2 separate regions of the Homo sapiens genome follow, and region 1 is linked to region 2. Evidence: promoter capture Hi-C in human tissues and cell types (Jung and others, 2019). All regions are on one chromosome and are shown on one strand. The core of a region is centred on a gene start or on the middle of the fragment in contact, and the rest is flanking DNA. Distances in the headings are between cores, read along the strand shown.

Region 1 (5,428 bases), core at 2,785-5,284, 890 kb after region 2:
CACCACACTGGCCAGGCTGGTCTTGAATTCCTCCCAAAGTGCTGGGATTACAAGCATGAGCCACCATGTCTGGCCCCCTTGATTCTTTTATGAGATGAGCATGTGCAGCTACAAAAGGAAACACAGGAGAGGCTCAGGAAAAAACAAAGTCTCTTGTACTCACAGGTCCCAGAGACCGGAGGCATGGCAAGCCATGAAGGGCCACATGGGAGAGACACCAGAGTGGTCAGGAAGCAAAAGACAGGAGGAGAAAGCCGAGGCTAGAGCCTTCATTGGGGTTTCAGTGGGAAAAGCAGAACAGGGCAGGGTAAACAGTTTAGGACTGGTTCGTTTGCATAATTTGGTTGATCTTTGGCCTATAGTAGTGATCTCTAGTTGCCTAGTACCTGGCCCTGGGATGATTAAGGCAGAGGAATATTGCTTCCTGAGCTGCATGGGCCAGATAGGGAAGGTCTGGTTTAGGACTGGTTTGTTTTCATATCAAAGGCACGTTCCTGGCTGGGTCCTTCGTTATCTCTAAGAATTGGCTGGCCCAGGGGGGAACAGTCTCTCTCCAGCTAAAAAGGTTTTTCAGGATCAAAGTATACAGACAACTTAAAAAAAAACAAGAGTAAAAGTTATTTGACCAACATCAGCCATGTGTGGCTAATGAACACTTAAAATGTGACAGGTGTGATTGAGGAATTAAATTTTAGTTTTATTTAAATGTTTTAATGTAAATTTAAAGAGCACATGTGGCTTATAGCTATGGAACATGCAGCTGTGAACACTATAGTTAAAACTGACATTTTGATCTGAGGATTCCTTTTATTTAATCAGTTCTGAAACTATAGTTTTCTACATTTATATATTTGTTCTATTGTGAATTTTAGGATTTATTTTGATGATGTACTTTTTCTTTGTGAAGTTTAGAAATGACCATGGGGGTCATGTGGGCCAAATTAACTCAATTCCTGGACAAAAACTATTTCCCCGACCACCCCAAGCTTCTTGCCAATGTGCGCCCTTGGGACAAGAAAGGCTAGGAGAAGCTGTGGACAAATTAAGATAAACCTGGCAATATCATTAGACAAATAACCCAAAGTGAATCCCTCTTCTGATGGTCAACATCAGATGGTCACACAGAAATGTTATTTTCCTATGAGTAATTTTGCATTATTGTTACATATGATTTCCACTTACAAATGCCACAAATATTATGCAAGTACCTCTCTACTGGGAAGGAATATAACAATTCTAACAAATAAACATAAAAGCAGTGTGTACATAAGAATGCCTCTATACAATTTTTTGAGCATCAAAATCTTAGAAAGTTGAAAAATACCAATGAAATATAGCATTCTTATTCTTTCTCATTTCTTTTATCTGTTCTTTAGAGAAAAAAAGATGGAGCAGAAAGCAAGAAAATTGTCCAACAGAATTATTGCAACTGACTTAGTTTCTTATAAACAAAGAATGCATTGAAAGAGAAAACCTTGCCTCAGCAAAGTATATTACACAATAAGAAAGAAGAATTTCAAAGATAATAGAGATAATTTCTCACAGATGTCTGACCAGAAAGAAATTCTCAACTTTCTAAACTTTTCTATCATAATTTCACATATTTCTCTGGTTCATTTATAAAGGGAAAATAACTTGAGAATATTCCAAGATGAATACATCAGCACTCACATAGGTAACCAGAAACATGGGGTGTTAAATCAATTACAGGAGCAGCTGGGTTCCTTATCCAGATAAGACAGCGAAAAAAGACCAAGAAGCCAGTAGCCGGTGACTTTAAAAATTGTTCGAATATGCTTCCTCCTCACTTTGTCTCTTGAGGTTCTTTGTAAAAGCCAGGGTTTCACAATTAACTTTACAGCAATCAAAAAGCTTTAATCAGTCACTAAAACAAATGCTATTTTCACTTATCAAATTGGTAATAATTAGGAAAAAAGTGATAATATCATGCTGGGATATTCAGAGCACGCTTTTGTGGGAATCTAAATTGGTGCAACCACTTTGGCTGCATGCCTCAAAAGCTTAAAAATATGCCCATCTTTTCTGCACCTTCTACTCCTGACAACTTATTTAACTACAGGGATGTTCTTCCCAGCTATGTGATATACAGCCATTAAATGGCTGAATACTATGCAGCCATTAAAATATTGTTGCAGAATATATTGTGATATGGGGTGGAGGTGGAGCCTAGCTCAAAAATTATGATTGTATTTGGGTAAGGAAAAATTATATGTATACATAAAAGTAATATGAAGGGGATAGACTTATGAATATTTTATAAATATTTTAGATATTTTCTTCATTTTCTTTTATTCTTTTCTTTAGTCTTATCTATATTTTCTAATATGTCTATTTGATATGTATTGCTTTTACAAGAAAAAATAACTTCAATGATCCTATAAAAGGAGGAGAGAGTGGGGAGCAAGTGTTTTAAATACTGCGACATGAGGCTGTGAAAGCTCTCAGAATCAAAATGAAGTCACCTATGTTAAAAATCCCAACAAACAGAGCCAGACGAGACCTTGAAGAGAGGGTTGTCATGTACAAAAACTATTGCAAGACTGCAAAAATCACAACCTTGCACAAAGTCCATCTCAACCTTACGCAAAAAAATACCTCTACAAGGACATCTGCCCAGCAACTGCCTGTCCAACCTCAGACTGGTGCTACCCTCGTTATTGAACCTTGTAGTCAAGGATAATTAACCCAAAACAGTTATGTAACCCTCCTTATTTTTCCTCTAAAAACCCTTGTCTTCCTTTACCTCCCTGAATAGGTACATAGTGTATTATAGTACATGCATTTCCATCGCAATGCCTATTCCCAAATAAATATCATTTTCTTTTCAAAATGTTTGTTATTTAGGTTGACAAGGCCTGGCTGCCCACTCCGTGGTGGTTGCCATCTGTTGCTTTATTATAACAAACTTCATTTAACTCAAGCCAGGCTGAGTGGCTTTCTTTATCTTGCTATCGATGCTCCCTAATACTCTAACCCCAACTTTGTATCATCTGGAATCCGGAGATATTTTTTAGCCAAACAAGAAACCCACATGTTGATTTGTAACATTTCAGCAGCACCACCTGCATCACCAAAGACTTTGAGACTTATGGAAATAAATTCAAATCCTCAACATCTGGAATGGTTGAGACACATGTATAAAGAACAGAAATTTATTTCTCACAGTCCTGGAGGCTGGGAAGTCCAAAATCAAGACTCTGGCATGTTTGGTGTCTGGTGAGGGCTGCTCTTTGCTTCCAAGATGGCACCTTGATGCTGCATCGTCTAGCGGGGAGGAACAGTGTGTCCTCACATGGCACGAGGCAGAAGGGCAAGAGGGCCAGACGCTGCTGTGTGAAGCCTCTTTTAAAAGGGCCTGAATCCCATTCACAAGGAAAGAATCCTTGTGACTGAATCACCTCTTAAAGCCTCCACTTCCTAATACTGTCCCATGGGCCATTAAGTTTCAATGCCTGGGCCGGGTGTGGTGGCTCACACCTGTAATCCCAACACTTTGGGAGGCTGAGGCGGGCAGATCACCTGAGGTCAGGAGTTTGAAACCAGCCTGGCCAACATGGCAAAAACACTGTCTCTACTAAAAAATACAAAAATTAGCCGGGTGTGTTGGCACGTGCCTATAATCCCAGCTACTTGGGGGGCTGAGGCAGGAGAGTCACTTGAACCCGGGAGGCAGAGGTTGCAGTGAGACAAGATCATGCCACTGCACTCCAGCCTGGGGAACAGAGCGAAACTCCGTCTAAAAAAAAAAAGTTTCAATGCCTGGATCTTGGAGGGGACACATTCAAACCGTAGCACCATTTTATATTATTTGTGGATTAGGGTTAATACTTTGTCATCTCAGACAAACCATTTCTAAGAAGGTAGAGGTTTGCGTGTGAGGCTTGAGCCACAGGTATGACACTCCATTGTCATGCACAAATTGTTACTTCCTTAAGATATGATCCAACAGACCTGGAGACCTGAATGCATTTAACACAAATGAAAGTTTCTGCCTCCTCCCTCAGCCCATTTGAGCTTCCATTTCCCTCTGACCCAGTGCGCATTCTACCCTTTGCAGTCTCAAGATGCTTCTCCCTGGCAGAAAAATCAAAAGCAAAATATGAACAAGTATAAGCCAGAATTTTCAGAGTAACTTTCCAGATTGCTTCAAATGGCAGCATTTCCAATCCTGGTTTGTCTCATTTGCTTTATTCAATAAAAGAACAAGAACAAGAACAAGAAAAAAAGAACACTACTGTGTATGAGCTTTGACATCACTTCTGACCATTTTTACTTTCATGTTGTTAATTTTGCCATTTGATTTTGTTTCCATTACATGCTATTAACTTCTGTTCAGATGTCACTCATTTAAAAATGTGGGGGTATTTCCCATTGTTGTCCCAGTCAGGCAATTATAACTTAACCTAAAGACAGCCCTGCTCTCAGGTCAGCCTTGCCATAAAGTCCGATTCAAAGAAATAACAGTCCATCAGAAAAATGAAAACCATTAAAATCTTTGTGTGTCTCTCAAGAAAATACCACAGGATGAGTAAACAAAGCTGAAAACAAGATAGAGAATAGAGTCTCTCAAGAAAATACCACAGGATGAGTAAACAAAGCTGAAAACAAGATAGAGGATAGAAGTTGATAGAGAGTTAGAATTTTAACATGTGACACGCCATTAGTAAGTGTTTTGAACACCAAGGGTTTGGAGGGAAAGAACTGTGTGGTCAGGACAGCAAGCCTGGAAGCTGACCCTGGCTGGCAACACTCAAAGTAACAAGACAAAGATCTAGCTGAGGGAGGAGGCTCAGAGGGCCTCAGGATGCTGCCATCCTAATGAAGAACAATCACACGGAGGGTGAAGGCAGTGTTCACCCTCTGTGTGAACACATCCTCCTAAGAGGATGCACTGCCCTCCTCCTAGAACACTGTGTGAGGGATCCCAGCTACCCAAGGTCCAGGAGCCACATGAAAGCTGCTTGAAGATGTCCCTTGCAAACCTAGCATCTGAGAATATGGACCCACAAAATACATTCATTAAGGAGAGGCCCATTTTATATAATGTACATTTACAAAGTTAATACACTTTTGACATATTTTCACACTTTTATTTCAAAAACATCTTGAATTACCTGCAAACTTTCAGGAACTCATCACCAACAAGGTCCATTCATGATGTAGTGGGAAATAACCACTGTGTAATGATAGCATAAGCAAATTCAGTTTTAATGAGAGGAAATAGGGGAAGAAAGTTGAAGATAAAACATGCTTCCTTTATAAATCCTTCTTTATTTTATTGTCCCCACTCCCAACCAACCCCCAAGGCCAAGTAAAGAGCTGGGAGTAAAAAGTTAGGGCACTGAAGATAGATTCGGGAGACGTCTGGGTTCCTCACCTGCTAATGCAGGACCCAGTTTCCTACAAA
Region 2 (5,406 bases), core at 864-3,363:
CTCTGCCCTGGGGTGGTGCTGCCAATCTAGGTTGGGGGCACAGCTAGGTCCAGTGACTCAGCTTTGATGTCCAAGACCTCGAACTCCCGCCTGCCTGGCGTGGTTCTTCCTGGTCACATGAACCAGATCGTGTTCCAAGTGGAGGATGTGGCTCTGCACGCGGTCATCAATGGGGAAGGAGGTCAGGTACCTCTTGACCATGGCAAAGTAAGCCATGGCCTCCCCAAAGCTGGGTACAGGCACCTCATCACCATCCTCCTCATCATCATCGTCGTCTTCATCTTCATCATCCTCTTCCTCATCGTCCTCTTCCTCACTGTCTGAATCAGAGTCCTCCCCACCTTCCAGGAAATGCAGAGTAGGGCACTGGGCTTCCTCCTGGGCACCATAAGCCCCGAAGCTGCCACCGGCCTCCACTACTCCCTGGGCCCAGTCCTCAGCCTCCAAGCCCTCCGAGGAGCTCTCCTCATCTTCCTCCTCTTCTTCATCACTATCAACATCACCCTCCTCCTCCACCTCCTCTTCCTCCCCCAATTCCTCTCCTTCCCCCCCTTCCTCCTCCTCCTCCTCCCCTTCCTCCTCCTCTTCCTCTCCTTCACCCTCTTCCTCCTCCTCTTCTTCCTCCTCCTCCTCCTCTTCCTCTCCCTCACTCTTGAGGGAAGTGGTGATGGTGGCATTAGGGCCACCCCCAAAGCCAGCCTCACGAAAGCAGGCGGCTATGTCCGAAGGCTCCACTGCCTGCCAGGCGGCAGCCACAAAGTGCAGGGCCTCCGTGAGACCCAGCTGCAGGCCTGAGGGATCCTGGCCCTCTAGCGCGGCCATGGCCTTGAGCAGCATGGCCTGGCGGTAGTGGCCCTTCACCTGCTGGACCACTCCCCTCTCCAGCGGATGCACGGTGCCGGGAGGGAAGAAGGCCAGCTGCACATGCCGCAGGCCCGAGGTGTCCAAGGACTGGGCAGCCAAGCGGCCGGCCAACAGCAGGACCCGGCGAGACTCTGCAGCCATTCGGGTGTCCAAGGCCTTCAAGTACTTGGCCAGGGCCTGGGTGGTGACACCACCCTTGGAGTTGGCGGTGTAGTCGCAGGGCAGGCCGGCTTGGCCTGCGCGGGGCTTGGCCGACTTGCCGGCCACCAGCGGGGGCAGCTTCTCGCTGCCGTCGGCATTGGCGCATAGCAGGACGCTCAGGCGCTGGGTGGCTTGACGCGGCCGTCCGTCGCCTCCGCACAGCCCCGCGGCCTGGTCGGGCAGGAAGTCGTACCATAGACTGGTCTCGGTGGCGCTGAACACGTCCTGCGAGGCGTAGCCCTCGGCCACCGACGGCGGCTGCTCCTCCCGAGCGCGCCAACCAGTAGTGCTCCCGCCACTGCCCTCCGAGGGCACCGCGGCCGGACTGGCAGGCGCCGCCGGGGTGCGGGGGGCAGCGTTTCGCGCGCGGGCGCGGGCCACGCCGCTGCAGGACACCACGCCGTGGCGCCGGCGGAAGCGGTCCAGCCAGCCGTTGGAGGCGGTGAAGTCGTCCATGCCCAGCTCCTCGGCTATGCGCAGCGCCTTCTCCTTGAGGATGATGCCCTTGACCGGCAGGCCGGCGGCGCGGATCTGCTGGAACCAGGCGATGAGCAAGCCCTCGAGCTTGTCGTAGGGAGACAGCTTGTTGGTCTTGCGGCAGGTGGAGGCCACCCCGTACTTGCGCTCCGACGCCAGGATGGCGCGCTTGTTCTTCAGGATCGTGCTCAGCGTGGACGGCGGGATGTTGAAGCGCCGCGCGATCTCGCCCTTGCGCAGGTCCGGATTCTCCTCCACCTCCTGGATGATCCGTGACTTCTCCCGGAACGTCAGCTGTCGCCTCTTGGGGCCCATCCCGGCGCGCCCCCCGCCCCGGGGCCCGGCGCCGCCGCCGCCGCCCCGGGGCGGGGGGCCCGGGCCCGTGGCGGGGGGCACCTGGCGGCCTCTCCCGCGCGCCCCGCCCGAGACAAAGCGGCTCGCGGGCGCGGCGGCGGGGCGACGACCCGGCCGGGCCGGGGGCACCTCCGGGGACGCCGGCGGGCGCGTCGCCGGGCGGCGGGCGGCAGGCGACGGGCGCAGACGAGGGCGGGCGGCGCGGGCGCGGAAGGCAGGAAGTGCCGCGGCGCGGGGAGCTGGGAGCGCGGCGAGCGGGGCGGAGCGGGCGGAGCGGGATCTCGCGGGAAGCGCGGGGACGCCCGGCGCCTCCTCCCCGCCCTCCGCGCCCACCCCCTTCCCGCCGCCGGGACATACCGCGGGGGGGCGCTGCGGCCTGCTGGACCTGCCCGTGCTGCGGCCTCCGGCGACCCGGCAGCGACGCGGGCGGGGACGCGGTGCATCGCTACTGCGCCCGGCGGACAGCGACTTGCTGCTCAAAAAGAATAAGAACCAGGGTTTTTGTTTGTTTTTTTTTTTTTTAATTAAGGTAAAAATAACGCACTTTTTTTTTTGCGGAACCTGAAAAATTCAAGAAGTTGAAAAACGCTTTTCACGTCACCTGGAGAGATGCACAGGTAACATTTTGATACATTTCCTTCCAGTCTTTTCTCTAGATGCATGTCGTTTTCTTTTTAAAAATTTATTATATAAAACTGGCATCAGACTGTATAGACTGTATATCTGGCATCTCCTGCTGTTTTACCTGGCATCAAGTAGTGAGAATTTTGCCATATCGGTAAGTATCATTGCCAACACGCTTTTTAATGATTGTGTAGCATTCCAGCTATGAATGAACACTAGCGTATGTAACCTATTGTTACACACTTAAGTTATTTTTAAAATCAGCATTACAGTTGTAAATCTATTTGATGGTGCTAATGACATTTTTAAAGTTCTAGTAATCCCACAACCCATAGATAAACACTCATAACATCTTGGTGTGTCACTTTCTGGGCTTTTCCATGCATATAGCCATAAATGTATGTGTTTGCACTTACAGAAATAACATCATGTATATACATAAGTGTGAATCCCTGAAGCCTCCCTCTCCTGCAGCAAAACATTAAAATGCCAAGCTCTTAAAACAATGAATGTATAGCTGTGTTTTTAAAAATCTCTTAGGGCAGCACTAAGGGGAACTCCAGCATTGGCAGAGGGGAAGGCTGTGACCCAGGGGGACAGGCTGAGGACCTGGGGCTGGATGAAGCTGTGGGTGAGTGTAGACAAAGAAGAAAAGAGGACCAAGGACAGTGCCCTGGGTCCTCCAAGGTTAAGGGCTCAAGAAAGAGGCCAGGTGCAGTGGCTCACGTCTGTAATCCCAGCACTTTAGGAGGCCGAAGCAGGCGGGACCACTTGAGATCAGGAGTTCAAGACCAGCCTGGCCAATATAGTGAAACTCCGTCTCTACTAAAAATACAAAAAATTAGCCAAGTGTGGTGGCACTCACCTGTAGTCCCAGCTATTCGGGAGGCTGAGGCAGGAGAATCGCTTGAGCCTGGGAGGCAGAGGTTGCAGGGAGCCAAGATCATGCCACTGCACTCCAGCCTGGGCAAAAGAGTGAGACTCCATCTCAAAAAAAAAGAAAGAAAGAAAGAAAGAACCAAATAGAGACTCTTGAAGTGGAGGAGCCCCTGAAGCAGGAGAAAAACCAGGCTACTGTGGCATTCTGGAAGCCAAAGGAAGAAAGTGTAACTCACTGCTGTTTTAGTGCAAATTTCTGTTTTCGTATGTTTCTTGGCCATTTGAATCCTGTGAATTTTCTAGTCATATCCTTTGACCATGTGTTTGTCTTTTTCTTGACTTTTAGGAGCTCTTTACATGCTCTGAAGAAAAGATCTTGTTAAGTATGTTGCAAATGTTTTCTCCCTGTCTGCCACTTGTCTAAGTTAGTTTAGGGAATCTTTTGGATATGAGAAGTTTTTAATCTTCAACCTGTCAATTTTTTCCTTATTGCTTCGGGGTTTTGTGTCTTACTTAGAGAGGACTTCCCTATCCCTGAGATATAAAAGATATTCTTTTAATCTCAAGGTCCAAAAGAACACGTGGGAGACTTTTCCAGAGCACTGCTTGGCCCAAGAGGAGTGTGTGGTCACTGGGCAAAAATGAATCTAAGATTACCTGGATGAGAACTCCTTGCCATGCATCTTTTCTTTCTTTCCTCTCTTTCATCCTTTTCCTTGTTTCTTTCCTTCCTTCCTTCCCTTCTTTCTTTCTCTTTCTCTCTTTTCCTTCCTTTCCTTCTTTCTTTCCTTCCTTCCTTCCCTTCTTTCTTTCTCTTTCTCTCTTTTCCTTCCTTTCCTTCTTTCTTTCCTTCCTTCCTTTCTCTTCCTTTCCTTTCCTTTCCTGTGGCCCCTCCTTAGTGCCATACAAAGGGCATTGGCACAATTACTTCTAGGACAGAAAAGCCACGCCCATCATATGCTGATGTCATAGCCATTTCCAGATACCTCGTCTACCCTTTGCCTGTAGCAGTGCACGGGGCCCATTTCCATCCCCTCTCAAGTGACCATTTCCCCCAGCAATCCATCTGAGGCCCCGGGCTTCCCCACCTCTTTCTGTAAGTCCCAGCTTTCTGCTTTTAGGACTGTTTGGGAAATCCATAACTCACCTTCTCTTCTTTTGGTCCAGCCTGCCCAGAGCTGTCCTTCAGGCCCCTCAGCAAGCTTTCCATTCTCCTTTTGTTTATTTGAGACAGGGTCTAGCTCTGTCACCCAGGACGGAGTACAGTTGCACGATCATAGTTCATTGCAGCCTCAGTCTCCTCAGTAGCTAGGACTACAGGCATGAGGCACCATGCCTGGCTAATTTTTAATTTTTTTTTTTGAGACGGAGTCTCACTGTGTTGCCCAGGCTGGGAGTGCAGTGGCGTGATCTCAGCTCACTGCAACCTCCTCCTCCCTGGTTCAAGCAATTCTCCTGCTTCAGCCTCCTGAGTAGCTGGGATCACAGGTGTACACCACCATACCTGGCTTAGTTTTGTATTTTTAGTACAGACAGGGTTTCACCATGTTGGCCAGGCTAGTCTCAAACTCCTGACCTCAAGTGATCTGCCTACCTTGGCCTCCCAAAGTACTAGGATTGCAGCCGTGAGCCACCTCACCCGGCCAAAAAATAATAATAAATAATAAAAATAAAGAGAACAACATTGGGCGCGGTGGCTCATGCCTGTAATCCCAGCACTTTGGGAGGCCGAGGTGGGCAGATTACGAGGTCAGGAGATCGAGATCATCCTGGCTAACACGGTGGAACCCCGTCTCTATTAAAAATACAAAAAATTAGCCGGGCATGGTGGCGGGCGCCTGTAGTCCGAGCTACTCAGGAGGCTGAGGCAGGAGAGTGGCGTGAACCCGGGAGGTGGAGCTTGCAGTGAGCGGAGATCGCGCCACTGCACTCCAGCCTGGGCGACAGAGCAAGACTCTGTCTCAAAAAAAAAAAAAATTAGCTAGGCATAGTGCCTTGCGCCTGTAG

The links. Contacts are between HindIII fragments. The study calls those that stand out against the background at their distance.
Region 1: a fragment that was not itself captured here is called in contact with the fragment with the promoter of CENPB in region 2 in 1 of the 25 tissues and cell types used here (lymphoblastoid cells).

The regions. Positions count from the first base shown.
Region 1 is chr20:4,673,401-4,678,828 of GRCh38, forward strand. No RefSeq gene overlaps it. Among named protein-coding and RNA genes, the nearest start is that of PRNP, 10 kb to the right of the region's middle. RefSeq lists a cis regulatory region at 65-749. The HindIII fragment of the contact is 5,211 bases long and covers 1,430-5,428 here.
Region 2 is chr20:3,784,627-3,790,032 of GRCh38, forward strand. CENPB (centromere protein B) reads right to left here and starts at 2,114. Exons shown (of 1, transcript NM_001810.6): 1 at 1-2,114. The coding sequence starts at 1,857. The coding sequence ends at 58. It also overlaps a transcript of CDC25B not described here. RefSeq lists enhancers at 810-1,520, 1,486-1,625, 1,521-2,230 and a silencer at 2,066-2,415. The HindIII fragment of the contact is 8,329 bases long and covers 1,841-5,406 here.